Linked DNA regions of Homo sapiens: regions 1, 3 and 4 are each linked to region 2. The links are contacts of gene promoters, found by promoter capture Hi-C in blood cells and fetal thymus (Javierre and others, 2016). All regions are on one chromosome and are shown on one strand. The core of a region is centred on a gene start or on the middle of the fragment in contact, and the rest is flanking DNA. Distances in the headings are between cores, read along the strand shown.

Region 1 (2,881 bases), core at 64-2,563, 580 kb before region 2:
TGTGGCCTAATCTACAACCTCTGAGTGCAGTGGCCTGATCTACAACCTCTGACTCCTGGGTTCAAGCGATTCTCCTGCCTCAGCCTCCCGAGTAGCTGGGATTACAGGTGTGTGCCACCACACCCAGCAAATTTTTGTATTTTTAGTAGAGAGGGGGGTTTCACCATGTTGCCCAGGTTGGTCTCGATCTTTTGACTTCATGATCCACCTGACTCGGCCTCCCAAAGTGCTGGGATTACAGGCATGAGCCACCGTGCCCAGCCGAGAAAAAAAATTTTTAAGTGTTCAATAGGATTTGCTTTTTTAAAAAATGTTCTTAGTTTTGAGTTACTTGTATTTTTCTTATAAAGTAAAATATATAGACTTACATGATATTTAAGGATTATATACAAAATAAATTATATTATCATAGGCCAAAGCTATCATCTCTCAAATTACTTCAAAATCCTCCACAGATATTCAACCTGCTTCCATCAGGTTAACATATAATATAACATATTATATTAAATATAATATTTTAACATCGGTTAAAATATTATATGTCATTGCAGTATCACAAATTCAGTTTTGCCAGATTGTTCTATTTTACCTGTCTGACTAATAATGAGGTGGCTAATTGACAGTGAAGAAATAACATTTCTTCATGATTTGTAGAAGCGATGCTTGGTTGTGTGGTTGTAGGAAGTTGAGCTAAGTTGCTCCATAACAGCCACTGTGCAGTCCTCACTCCAAAGATTACACCCTATCATAATACTTTTTGCATGTCTGATACCAGAACACAGTTTTCTCTAAGACTTTCTTAATATCTGTTCTCAAAACCCTTTATACTCAGAGTAATACCTCAATCCTTAAGTTGAGTCAATACAATAATAAAGGTAGTTAAAAAGATGTCAATGGTTCCCACTGATTCTATGTACTCAGGGTGAGCTCTTGAACTGTCTAGAATTAGAATCTATTAATTATGGTTACATAATTTTTATATGCAATAGAAAAAATAAAAGGTAAAAAACATTAAGGGGAAGCAATGCTTTTTTTGTCTATGGATCACTTTAGCAACAAGTAAAGAAATGAAACTTTTATAAGCCCTAGGAAAATGAAAGCTTCCAATCACATAACCTTGTGTTCAGCTATAGTTCATGTGAGAACAGACACATTGCATCTATTCTTAAAGTCCACAGTCTGGCACCTATTAGTGGATTTTAGTAAGCTTTTCCACAAACAGACCAGTTTTATCATCATTTTAAAACTATTCAGGGCAGAATGATCTCACTCTAAACCCATGATACATTCTTTCAGAGTTGATGGTTTGATGCCCTTCCTATCAGTCATATCTGTCCTTCCGAAGCTATGTCTTAATGTGAAACACTGAAGCAACTCTTGAGAAAATATACTTAGAGAAGAGTATGTCCTAAAGCTTCCAGCAGGAGAATTTGAAATTCATGGCATACCTGAGCTCTATAACTCAGCTAGATCTATTGTACCGCCTGGAACACCTTACAGCACAAGTTAAGCTTGAGCTTCATAACCTAGGCACTGATTTTTTCCGACTTTAACGCAACACCATTTGAATATCATAATGCCTTTCGATGCTACTAAAATGAAGATTGGCTTGATCTTATACTAAATGTCATCTGTCATTCAGCAAGTGTCTTCCGGCTTCATACCTCAGTAGTCTTTAAAGCAACTGAAATCCAAAGGGTTCCTTCTGCTCCAATGGGCAAAAGTGTGCCACCTCCTCCTGTGTCACTGCAGCTTTCTCCTTCCCTTACAGACCCCAAAGCTCTCGTTGCCACCATGACCCTCAATGTGCCACCCAGGGTGCTCTAGCTGTGTCTTTCACCTCTTCTGTCTGTTGCTTTCTTCTGTCTGCCTCTTCCCTTCTCTCCTCCCTAGCCTATCCCTATTCTTCCCTTAGTTTTCTAAAGAGCCACTGGACATAGAACCATTATTCATCTATGGATGTATCTGTGTCTTTCTATTCCTACGCCATCAGGGTCTTGTCCCAATTTTTGGCTTATTGCTTTCTGTTCAAGAGCTGTTGCTATGTTACCTTCAGGTAATCTCTTTCCCTTCCTGCCTCCCTCTGGGGTTTGCACTGTGCCTGTTGTTCACGTTGACTGAATGCTGAAAGTCTAGCCCAGGAATAACTGGGGAATACTAAATCCGTTTCCTTCATCTTCAGTGTGGCTGACAAACGGTCTGTAACAAACCATTTTCTACAAAAAGGTCACCAGAAAAATAAAATCATTACCCATTTCCTTTGAAATGGCATGGCATATTAATAAGGCAATTATGATATGGATAAAATAGAGGTGTTTATAGTATAAAGGTTAAAGAACAATAGTAAACACTTAATGTACTTCATTGTCAGAGTAGTTTATAAAAAATCTGTAAGTATCAAAATATCTGTCTGAAGCTTTTTATGCATAAGACACTTCAGATTTACCATGTACCACATCAGCAGAAACTAGAACAGTGAGTGACGAATACAGCAAATGATAAAAGCAATAAAGGGGAAACTTGGAGAAAAAAATTAAAAGAAAAAGAAAAAAGAATACATATAGGAAATTAGACAAAGAAAGAAAAAGCTGAAGAAAAAGTGTATACACTAGGACTGATACACTAAAACGTATAAAATAAGAAGACAGGGCTGGATGCCGTGGCTCACGCCTGTAATCTCAGCACTTTGGGAGGCTGAGGCAGGCAGATCACGAGGTCAGGAGTTCGAGACCAGCCTAGCCAATATGATGAAACCCTGTCTCTACTAAAAATACAAAAAGTAGCCGGGCATGGTGGCACATGCCTGTAGCCCCAGCTACTCGGGATGCTGAGGCAGGGGAATTGCTTGAACCCAGGAGGCGGAGGTTGCAGTGAGTTGAGA
Region 2 (2,770 bases), core at 211-2,710:
GTGACCCCTTGATGTTGGGTGCCTCTCATTACAAAAATCTCAAATCTTACAGACCAAGAAAAATCTCAAGTCAAGGAAGACTTGCGGTGTTCACAAAGGCAACATTGACCACAGTCCAGTAGAGCTGAAGAGCATATACCAGAATTCAGGAACTCAACATTTTCTCCCCTCTGTCCAACCACAGGACAGACTGTGCACCCCAGGGAGATGCTGTGTGTCCACTGGCCTCACTGACTTGGATTACTCCTGCAGCACGTGACCAGCCAGCTCATATGATCACTCCCTACTGCCCCCAAAGCAGAATTGACTGGGAGCTGGAAACCCACACAAAAAGGGACAATTATATTGAATGTAACATACTCCCTCTGCTTACCTAGTGCCTTCACCTCCTATGGGCATTTGGAGTAAAAGGTTGTTATGCAGGTGTTTGTGAAGGATGTGGCCAAGTCAGTTGTCTCCCTTACAGGGTGACCCAAGATTAATGATATCTACCCATCCCCAGTCCCTCGACCCCCTAGTTGCAATCAGCTTTGTCACTGTCCCCCTTAGGCACTGCCATGTAAAGCACGTGGTCCCCCATTCTGAAGCAGTGGGAAACCTAGAAGAGATGTACTCTTCGCAACCTGGTTGGATCTTAAAAACATGGTTCTAACTGAAAAGAAAAAAGACATATTACACATATTTACATAAATTAAAACTGCATTCACCCTAAACAATACACATTTTACAAGAATGCGTTCCAACAAAAGGATATATATAAGCATGCTAAATACTTGCTTATGGGGATTGAAGGTAAGGGGAGGCTGGAGTGGGATAAATAGGAATTTAAGAAATAATGAAAATAAGGCACACTAACTCCTTAGCTCTCAACCTTTTGCCTTCCTCAGACACATAAGATGATCCACAGCTGTCCAGAACCTTACCTAGCTATTTGGTACTCTCAGCTTTTCTTTGGAATGGCTCCTTCCCCATTGTTTTCTCCTCTCTTTCTCTAAGACCCCCAAAACCAATTTATTTGTTCATTCACTTCATGCATATCTTCCTTTTTCCTCTCTTAGTCACATACCTCGTTTCACAATCTCCGACCCCTTCAACCATGTCCTGATCCTTCTCCCACACCCAGCACCACCCTCCTGCAGAGAAAAGTGTACCCGGATGAAACTCCGATGGAATATTAAACTAACAGAACTTGTCAGATGACCTTTGCTTTATCTGCCTGCTTTCTTTCCTCTTCCCTTCTGTTCTCTTCTTTTCCTTTCTTTTCTCTCCTCTTCTCTCTCTCCTTCCTATTTTCATTCTATCTCTTTTCCTCACTCTCTTTTTCTCCCCCTTGAAGGCACTGTTACTAGAAATAGAGAGCTCTGGGGCTTGCCTGAAGCCATGGGCAGTCACCACTCCAGGATTCCCCTTTTAGCGCCTCCTCCCCATCTTAATCTCAAAGTCCAGCAGGATAGTGAGCAGTTAGAGCCCGGCCTCCAATCTGCTTCCATGGGGGTTGGCTTTCTGAGTGGGAGAAATGACTCTAATCTGGAGACATTTGCTGAGACCCTTGTGCCTGGTCACTTCCGCTCCCAGGATCCTTGAGATGCATCCTTTCCTGAGCCGTAAGTGGAAACCAGGGGGACGTGGGTCAGTAGAGGATCAGCGAGAGGGTAAGACTTGAGCTCCGAAGGCTGCTGCCTGGGATTCTGGAATGTTAGACCTGGGTGAGGTCTTAGAGATGAGGCATGTTTTTGACACACAGGTTCTCACCCTGAGTCAATGCCCCATTTTCATAGCCAATATTTTGTAATGCTCCTTTTTGTTTTGAAATGAAATTCGTGGATAATGAAACCCGACTATACACAATTTCAACATGACATGCTATCTCAGCTTCAATATTTTTAAAAACCAAAGGAAAGCAATCAAAATAGAGTGTGACTTCAATTTACAGATGCCCAAGGATGATTTCTATTTTTTCTTTTTTGAGACAGGGTCTCCCTCTGTCACCTAGGTTGGAGTACAGTGGTGTGATCATGGTTCACTGCAGCCTTGACCTCCAAGGCTCAAATAATTCTCCCACCTCAGCCTCCTGAGTAGCTGGAACTATAGGCACATGCCACCATGCCTAGCTATTTTTCTTTTTTAACTTTTGTAGACATGGGGTTTTACTATGTTGCTCAAGTTGGTCTCGAACTCCCGGGCTCAAGCAATCCTCTCACTTCAGTCTTTCAAAGTGCTCGGATTGCAGGCCTAAGCCATTGCACCAGGCTAGGATGACTATTTTAAAAGATGTAAAGCATCTGCATGAATTTTCATCATGCCTCTAGGAAGTGAGACCACGCTCTCAATTGCCAACAAGTGCTGTGATTCACCCAGAGTCATCCAAGCCAGGGCTTGACCCCAGGCCCTCCCCATCTACTCAGACTCTCCTCTCTGCAGCAAGAACAGAAAATATGAGGAGATGTGGGGTAACCAGACATTGGTGGCTTTATGAGTAATATCCTATATGCTTGTGATTTTCACATGGATCTTGTTTCACGAGAGCCTCACCTCCTCCTCAGCAAATTCCCTCATGCAAACATGAGATTAAGCAACTGTCTGTACATTTATGTGCCTGTGCTTCACGGGCCGTAAACAGGTACAGGGGACCATTTTACATTCCCCATTGTGACCAACTTTGCCTTCATTTTCTCCTCATATTTCCCTTTCACCCTCCTTCCTTCCTCTCCTCTTCGCTTTCTTACCCCTGAAAATTGCAGTTTTTTGAAACTTGACACATGCATGATGC
Region 3 (2,720 bases), core at 78-2,577, 920 kb before region 2:
CCACAGACCCTAGGCTCAGTTTTCAGTGAATTTTGGTAGATTTTCTTGAATAAATATTTCTTCTTTTTCTGTATGCCCTAGAACCATTTCCAACATTTGTGTATGTGTGTGTGTGTGTGTGTGTGTGTGTGTATGCGTGTGTCATTTTCACCAGTTTTGGTGTGAACAGTGTCTGGAGAGTTACTCATGCTATTATGCTGGGAATGGAATGTTGGTAATGATGGAGCATTGTTAAACTTACCAAGCAATTCTTCTCAGGAATGTAACTGAAGCACCATGCCTTCTACTTTGTGTGTGGCAATGGCACATCCCTTTTTGTGCGTTCCTTTGTATATATAATATGTCTTGAATAAGCGCACCCTGTGTATGTCTTGAATGATTGTGCTTGATGAGTCTCCTCCAAGGAGGACATCCTCATTATAATGTCATAACTGCTCCTAGGGAAAGTTGGATATGATGATGGTCTTGCTGGCAGTGATTGTGGGCCAGGATATTGAGGTTCCCCACAGTCATCCAGTTACAGGTGATTTATGGCCTTTTAAAGATAAAGGGAAACTGACTGAGATCCTATTGAAATAGGCCTTGAATGGAACATATTTGTCAAATCTATGATTGCAAAGTATTTGTTAGTATTCAAATGTAGTAAGCAATTTTTAATAACCATGGGTATGAGGTTCTAAATGTGATGGATCCTGGCATTAAGGCTGTAGTAAAATGTTGTGAGGCATCATTAATTCTTGCTAGGTTTAAAAATAGTCCAAATTGGGATTTTAAAGGGAGAAAGAATGGAGACAATTAACCCTTTTCTAAATAGATCTTTCATAATGGAATTTAATCCGTAAAGGCCCTGCTTTAATCTATTTTGGGCATTGTTAATAATTTTAATATACTGAAGCAGATCCACAGCATCCCTTTTTGTTAAGCCAATTCTAAGTGCCAAAGAAACAATTTTATGTTAGTTTTTTAATTGTTAGTTAAGAGTAGCCATGCCCAGAATGCAATGGAATATTTTAGGAAATGAGTCTTAAGACTATGGAGTATTGATATGGTTTGGCTGTGTCCCCACCCAAATCTTATCTCGAATTCCCACGTGTTGTGGGATGGACCTGGTGGGAGGTAATTGAATCATGGGGACAGGTCTTTCCTGTGCCGTTCTTGTGATAGGGAATAAGTCTTACGAGATCTGATGGCTTTTTTTTTTTTTTGAGATGGAGTCTCACTCTGTCACTAGGCAGGAGTGCAGTGGCGCTATCTCAGCTCACTGCAACCTCTGCCTCCCAGGTTCAAGTGATTCTCCTGCCTCAGCCTCCTGAGTAGCTGGGACTACAGGTGTGTGCCACCACGCCTGGCTAATTATTTTTGTATTTTTAGTAGAGATGGGGTTTCACCGTATTAGCCAGGATAGTCTTGATCTCCTGACCTCATGATCTGCCTGCCTCAGCCTCCCAAAGTTCTGGGATTACAGGAGTGAGCCACAGTGCCCGGCCAAGAAATGATGGTTTTATAAGAGAGAGTTTCCCTGCACAAGCTCTCTCTCTCTTTGCCTGCTGCCACCTATGTAAGACATGACTTGCTCCTCCTTGCCTTCTGCCATGATTGTGAGGTCTCCTCAGCCATGTGGAACTGTAAGTCTATTAAATCCTTTTTCCTCTATAAATTATCCAGTCTCAAGTAGGTCTTTATCAGCAGCATGAAAACAGACTAATACAGGTATTTAGTACCAATGCTTAAGATGGGGCATATATATTTGCCGTCTATATTATATTGGATAACTCCTTAAGAGTACAGAGGTAATATTACTTAAATTTAGTGAAATATTCTGATATACCTGTAACTTTTGCCCAATTGTTGATTAAGGTTATTACGGTTCGCAGGGGTGTATTTGATCTGATGTTAATCTAGAACTTACAATGTAGAGAGAAAATAGCCAATCAGTGTCCTTTTAATTTTTCTGTTAAAAAATAAATGTTAAATTTCCAAAGGGTTAAGTTGTAGACCTTTGTTTTAGTTTTTGTTCTTGCATCCCACCCGTCCCCCTCCCCACCCCTTTTGACTAACCTAATTCTCTCTTTCTCTTTTTGGTTGTTATCAGGTGTACTTTGGTGGTGGTGGGTGGATGGGTGTCCTTTCTAACATGCTCATCTTTGTAAGTTTCTTTCTGAGAGAGTTCCAATGAGTATCAGCAAGGTTAGAGACCTTCTTTCTGGTAATTTTGAGAGACCCAAGGCTTAAATTGGGTTTGAAGGATCTCTTTGGCTGTATAGTGTTGTCATGGGTGCTTTTCCTAATAATTCTGTTCATCTGGAGCATTTTTAGCTACAGAGATATAATCAGCAATAGTAGCAAAGGCATTTTCTGAGGTCCCAGTGGACCATCTATTTTTAGGATTGTGGATGTGAGCATGCCACACAATGATTACCATTCTTCACACCATTTGGAGGGATCATATATTGCACTGATGTCAGTCTTAACCCTGAGTGCTCTTTACAATGGTGTGTGTGTGGGAGGTGATATATGATTGGGACACATAACCAGTGCTCATAGGGTAAGAGTTATTCCACTGAGTTACTGTCAACCACAGCTCATGCTGTAGTTGAGAAACACAATTCCATCTGAGACATACAGATAGCTTTGGTTTGAGACACATGATCCAGGGCTACTGAAAAGAGGATCCCTGTTTGTCATTCCTGTCTCACAATGCAAATTATTGAAACTTCTGA
Region 4 (3,107 bases), core at 243-2,742, 940 kb before region 2:
GAATTCTTATTGGGTCTGTAGACTAAGACTTCACATAACATACTTCTGTATTTTACCACTTACCTGGGTGTCATTCTATTCTAGACAACTCTCCACACATTATTATTAATTATTTTGAGGAATACTACACAATGGTATGGCTTAAAGTTTTTTTGAACAGAAATGTTTAGCCATATTTCAGGCTTTTATTATGTAAGTATAGAAGTTCTTCTTATCCCACAGGTTACTTTCTATTCTTGAGAGACTTGAAATTTATGAAAGATTTCCCAGGGAGCCTCTTAATTATTAACTAAGATGAGAATATATGATTAACACGACCTCATATGCTTGAAAAATTTGTAGCTATGCATAAGTTGTACATAATGATGTCAGAAGTTTTTAATTGATTCATTTCCTCCAAAGAATTGTAACTAAAATGAAACTCATAAATTCCTGTTGACAGACAAGGAGACGGAGGTCCAGGGAACTGAAAAAATTTGTTTAATGTCAAATGAAAAATTAATAACAGAGTTGGGCGAATCTGGGTCTTCAGGCTCTGGGTTTCTCAATCTGAGGGTTTCTGAAGCTTTGAACAACATCAAAAATTAACCATCTTGGGAGAAAAAGTCTGAGTCATTATAAAATTCTGAAGGTAAACTTCAGGCCTTGTTAATGTTTAGATAGTTTTAATGCACTTTTGATCACCTTCTAGATTGAGTTTTGGAATGTTCACTGAATATCCTTTTTATACATTTTCCTTTGTATCTGCCTTATAGTGTCTGATTTCTCAGCAGTAATATATGGTCATCTTATTTTGGTGGTTCCAATAGCTTTTGACAAACTGCTGAAAGCTATAGACCCACTACTTTAACAGACCATGCACACCAAAATCTACAAATGATTCTGTGGATTCATGAATCTGTTCAGCTTTATCTTTGGGTTCAAGTGTTGGGGTTCAAGTGTTCTAGAGTTTCTTTCAGTATTCCTCAATCTTTGGACATTTCTGCGGTTGAGATGAAATATTCTTCCTTCTAGTTTGCAGTAGTATTTGGGTAGAGCTCTGAAAGTAGGAAAAGCACTTGATTGGGTTGTTTTTGATAGTCTGATAGCCAAATCAGTGTATTGAAATACTTGTACATTTGTTAACTACATGTTTCCATCACTTCCTTATTTAAAACTTTAATAAATAAATGACTTCAGGGATACTGAAGAAGTGTAGGTTTTTTGTGCTCACGCGCAGTATTTTTCCAACTCATAACTGAAATCTCACGTATAGGATAGCAGCCTAAAGGAGAACATAATTATTTGAGGTTCTGACTCTTTTTCCTTTTTAAAAAATTTATACATTTTTATTGCTGCATAATAGATGTACATATTTTCAGGGTGCATGTGATAATACATTTATATAATTTGTAAGGATCAAATCAGTGTAATTGGGATATGCATGACCTTAAATATTTGTTTTTTCTTTATTCTAGAAACATTCAAACTATTCTCTTCTAGCTACTTTGAAACATACAATAGATTATTGTAAACTATAGTCACCCTACTGATCTATCAAACACTAGATCTTATTTCTTCTGTAAAGCTATAGATATGTACTCATTAATCAACCTCTATCCATATCCCCTGTCCACTACCATTTCCGGTCTCTAGTAATCACCAATCTACTCTCTACTTTCATAAGATCCTCTTTTGTAAGCTACTGCATATGGGTGAGAACATTGGATATTTTTCTTTCTATGCTTGGCTTATTTCACTTAATATAATGGCCTCTAATTCAATACATATTGCTGTAAATGACACAATTTCATTATTTTCTATAGCTGAATAATATTTCATTGTGGATTTAAATCACATTTTCTTTATGCATTGTCCACTGATGTGCACTAAGGTTGATTGCTTTACTTTGGTTATTGTAAACAGTGCTGCAATAAACATGGGAATGAAGCTATCTCTTCGATATATTGACTTTTTTTCTTTTGGATTATATATCTAGTAGTGGAATTGCTGCATCATATGGTAGTTCTGTCTTTAGTTTTTTGAGGAATCTTGATAGAGTTTTCCATAGCAGCTGTACTAATTTACAGTGTATGAGGGTTCCCCTTTCTTGACTTTCGTGTCAGCATTCATTATTCCGTTTTTCAGATAAAAGCCATTTTAACTGTGATGAGATGATATCACATTGTGATTTTGATTTGCATTTTTCTGAGGATAAATAATGGTGAACATTTTCTTATGTATCTGTTGGTTATTTTGAGAAATGTCTATTCAGATCTTTTTCCCATTTTTAACTATTTATTTGCTATTAAGTTGTTTGAGCTGTTTATATATTCTGGTTATTAATCCATTGTGAAAAGAATAGTTTGCAATTATTTTCTCCATTCTTTGGGTTGTCTTTTCATTTTGTTGACTGTTTCCTTTGCTGTGCAGAAGCTTTTTGGCTTGATGTAATCCCATTTGTCTATTTTTGCTTTGATTGCCTGTACTTTTGATGTCTAACTAAAAAAGTCTTTGCTGAGACCAATGTCTTGGAATAGTTCCTCAATGTCTTCTTCTAGTAGTTTCATAGTTTTAAGTCTTAGAATTAAGTTTTAAATCCACTCTGACCTTATTTTTTTGTATGGTGAGAGACAGTGGCTTGGTTTTGTTCTTTGCGTATATCCAGTTTTACAGATTCTCCAGCACCATTTATTGTAAAGACTGTCCTTTCCTCATTATATGTTCTTGGCCTCTTTGTTGAAGATAAGGTTGCTATACATGTGTAGGTTTTTATCTGGGCTCTTCTGTTCCATTGGTCTATGTGTCTGTTTTCATGCCAGTACCGTGCTGATTTGGTTACTATACGTTTGCAGTATATTTTGAAGTCATGTAGTTTGATGCCTCTGGCTTTCATCTTTTTGCTCAGGATTGCTTTGGTTACTCAGGATCTTTTATGGTTCCATATACATTTTATAATTTTTTTCTATTTCTGTGAATAATGTCATTGATATTTTGATAATAATTGCATTGAATTTGTACGTTTGCTTTAGGTAGTATTGGCATTTTAACAATATTTATTCTTCTAGTCCATGAACAAGGAATAGCTTTCTATTTATTGTGACCTCTTCAGTTTCTTTCAGTGGAGT

What was found. Contacts are between HindIII fragments. The CHiCAGO score rates a contact against its expected background, and 5 or more counts as called.
Region 1: a contact is called between a fragment that was not itself captured here and the fragment with the promoter of AGXT2 in region 2, in 1 of 17 cell types (M1 macrophages). The highest score is 5.4, in M1 macrophages.
Region 3: a fragment that was not itself captured here is called in contact with the fragment with the promoter of AGXT2 in region 2 in 3 of 17 cell types (activated CD4 T cells, naive CD8 T cells and total CD8 T cells); the score reaches 7.8 in activated CD4 T cells.
Region 4: a contact is called between a fragment that was not itself captured here and the fragment with the promoter of AGXT2 in region 2, in 1 of 17 cell types (naive CD8 T cells). The highest score is 5.7, in naive CD8 T cells.

Annotation. Positions count from the first base shown.
Region 1 is chr5:35,624,702-35,627,582 of GRCh38, reverse strand. The region is part of intron 1 of SPEF2 (sperm flagellar 2); the gene reads right to left. Among named protein-coding and RNA genes, the nearest start is that of SPEF2, 8.3 kb to the right of the region's middle. The HindIII fragment of the contact is 207 bases long and covers 1,210-1,416 here.
Region 2 is chr5:35,046,639-35,049,408 of GRCh38, reverse strand. AGXT2 (alanine--glyoxylate aminotransferase 2) reads left to right here and starts at 1,460. Exons shown (of 14, transcript NM_031900.4): 1 at 1,460-1,604. The coding sequence starts at 1,517. It also overlaps a transcript of PRLR not described here. The HindIII fragment of the contact is 8,089 bases long and covers 1-2,770 here.
Region 3 is chr5:35,968,876-35,971,595 of GRCh38, reverse strand. The region is part of intron 2 of UGT3A1 (UDP glycosyltransferase family 3 member A1); the gene reads left to right. Among named protein-coding and RNA genes, the nearest start is that of UGT3A1, 21 kb to the left of the region's middle. The HindIII fragment of the contact is 3,790 bases long and covers 1-2,720 here.
Region 4 is chr5:35,985,187-35,988,293 of GRCh38, reverse strand. The region is part of intron 2 of UGT3A1 (UDP glycosyltransferase family 3 member A1); the gene reads left to right. Among named protein-coding and RNA genes, the nearest start is that of UGT3A1, 4.6 kb to the left of the region's middle. The HindIII fragment of the contact is 1,850 bases long and covers 568-2,417 here.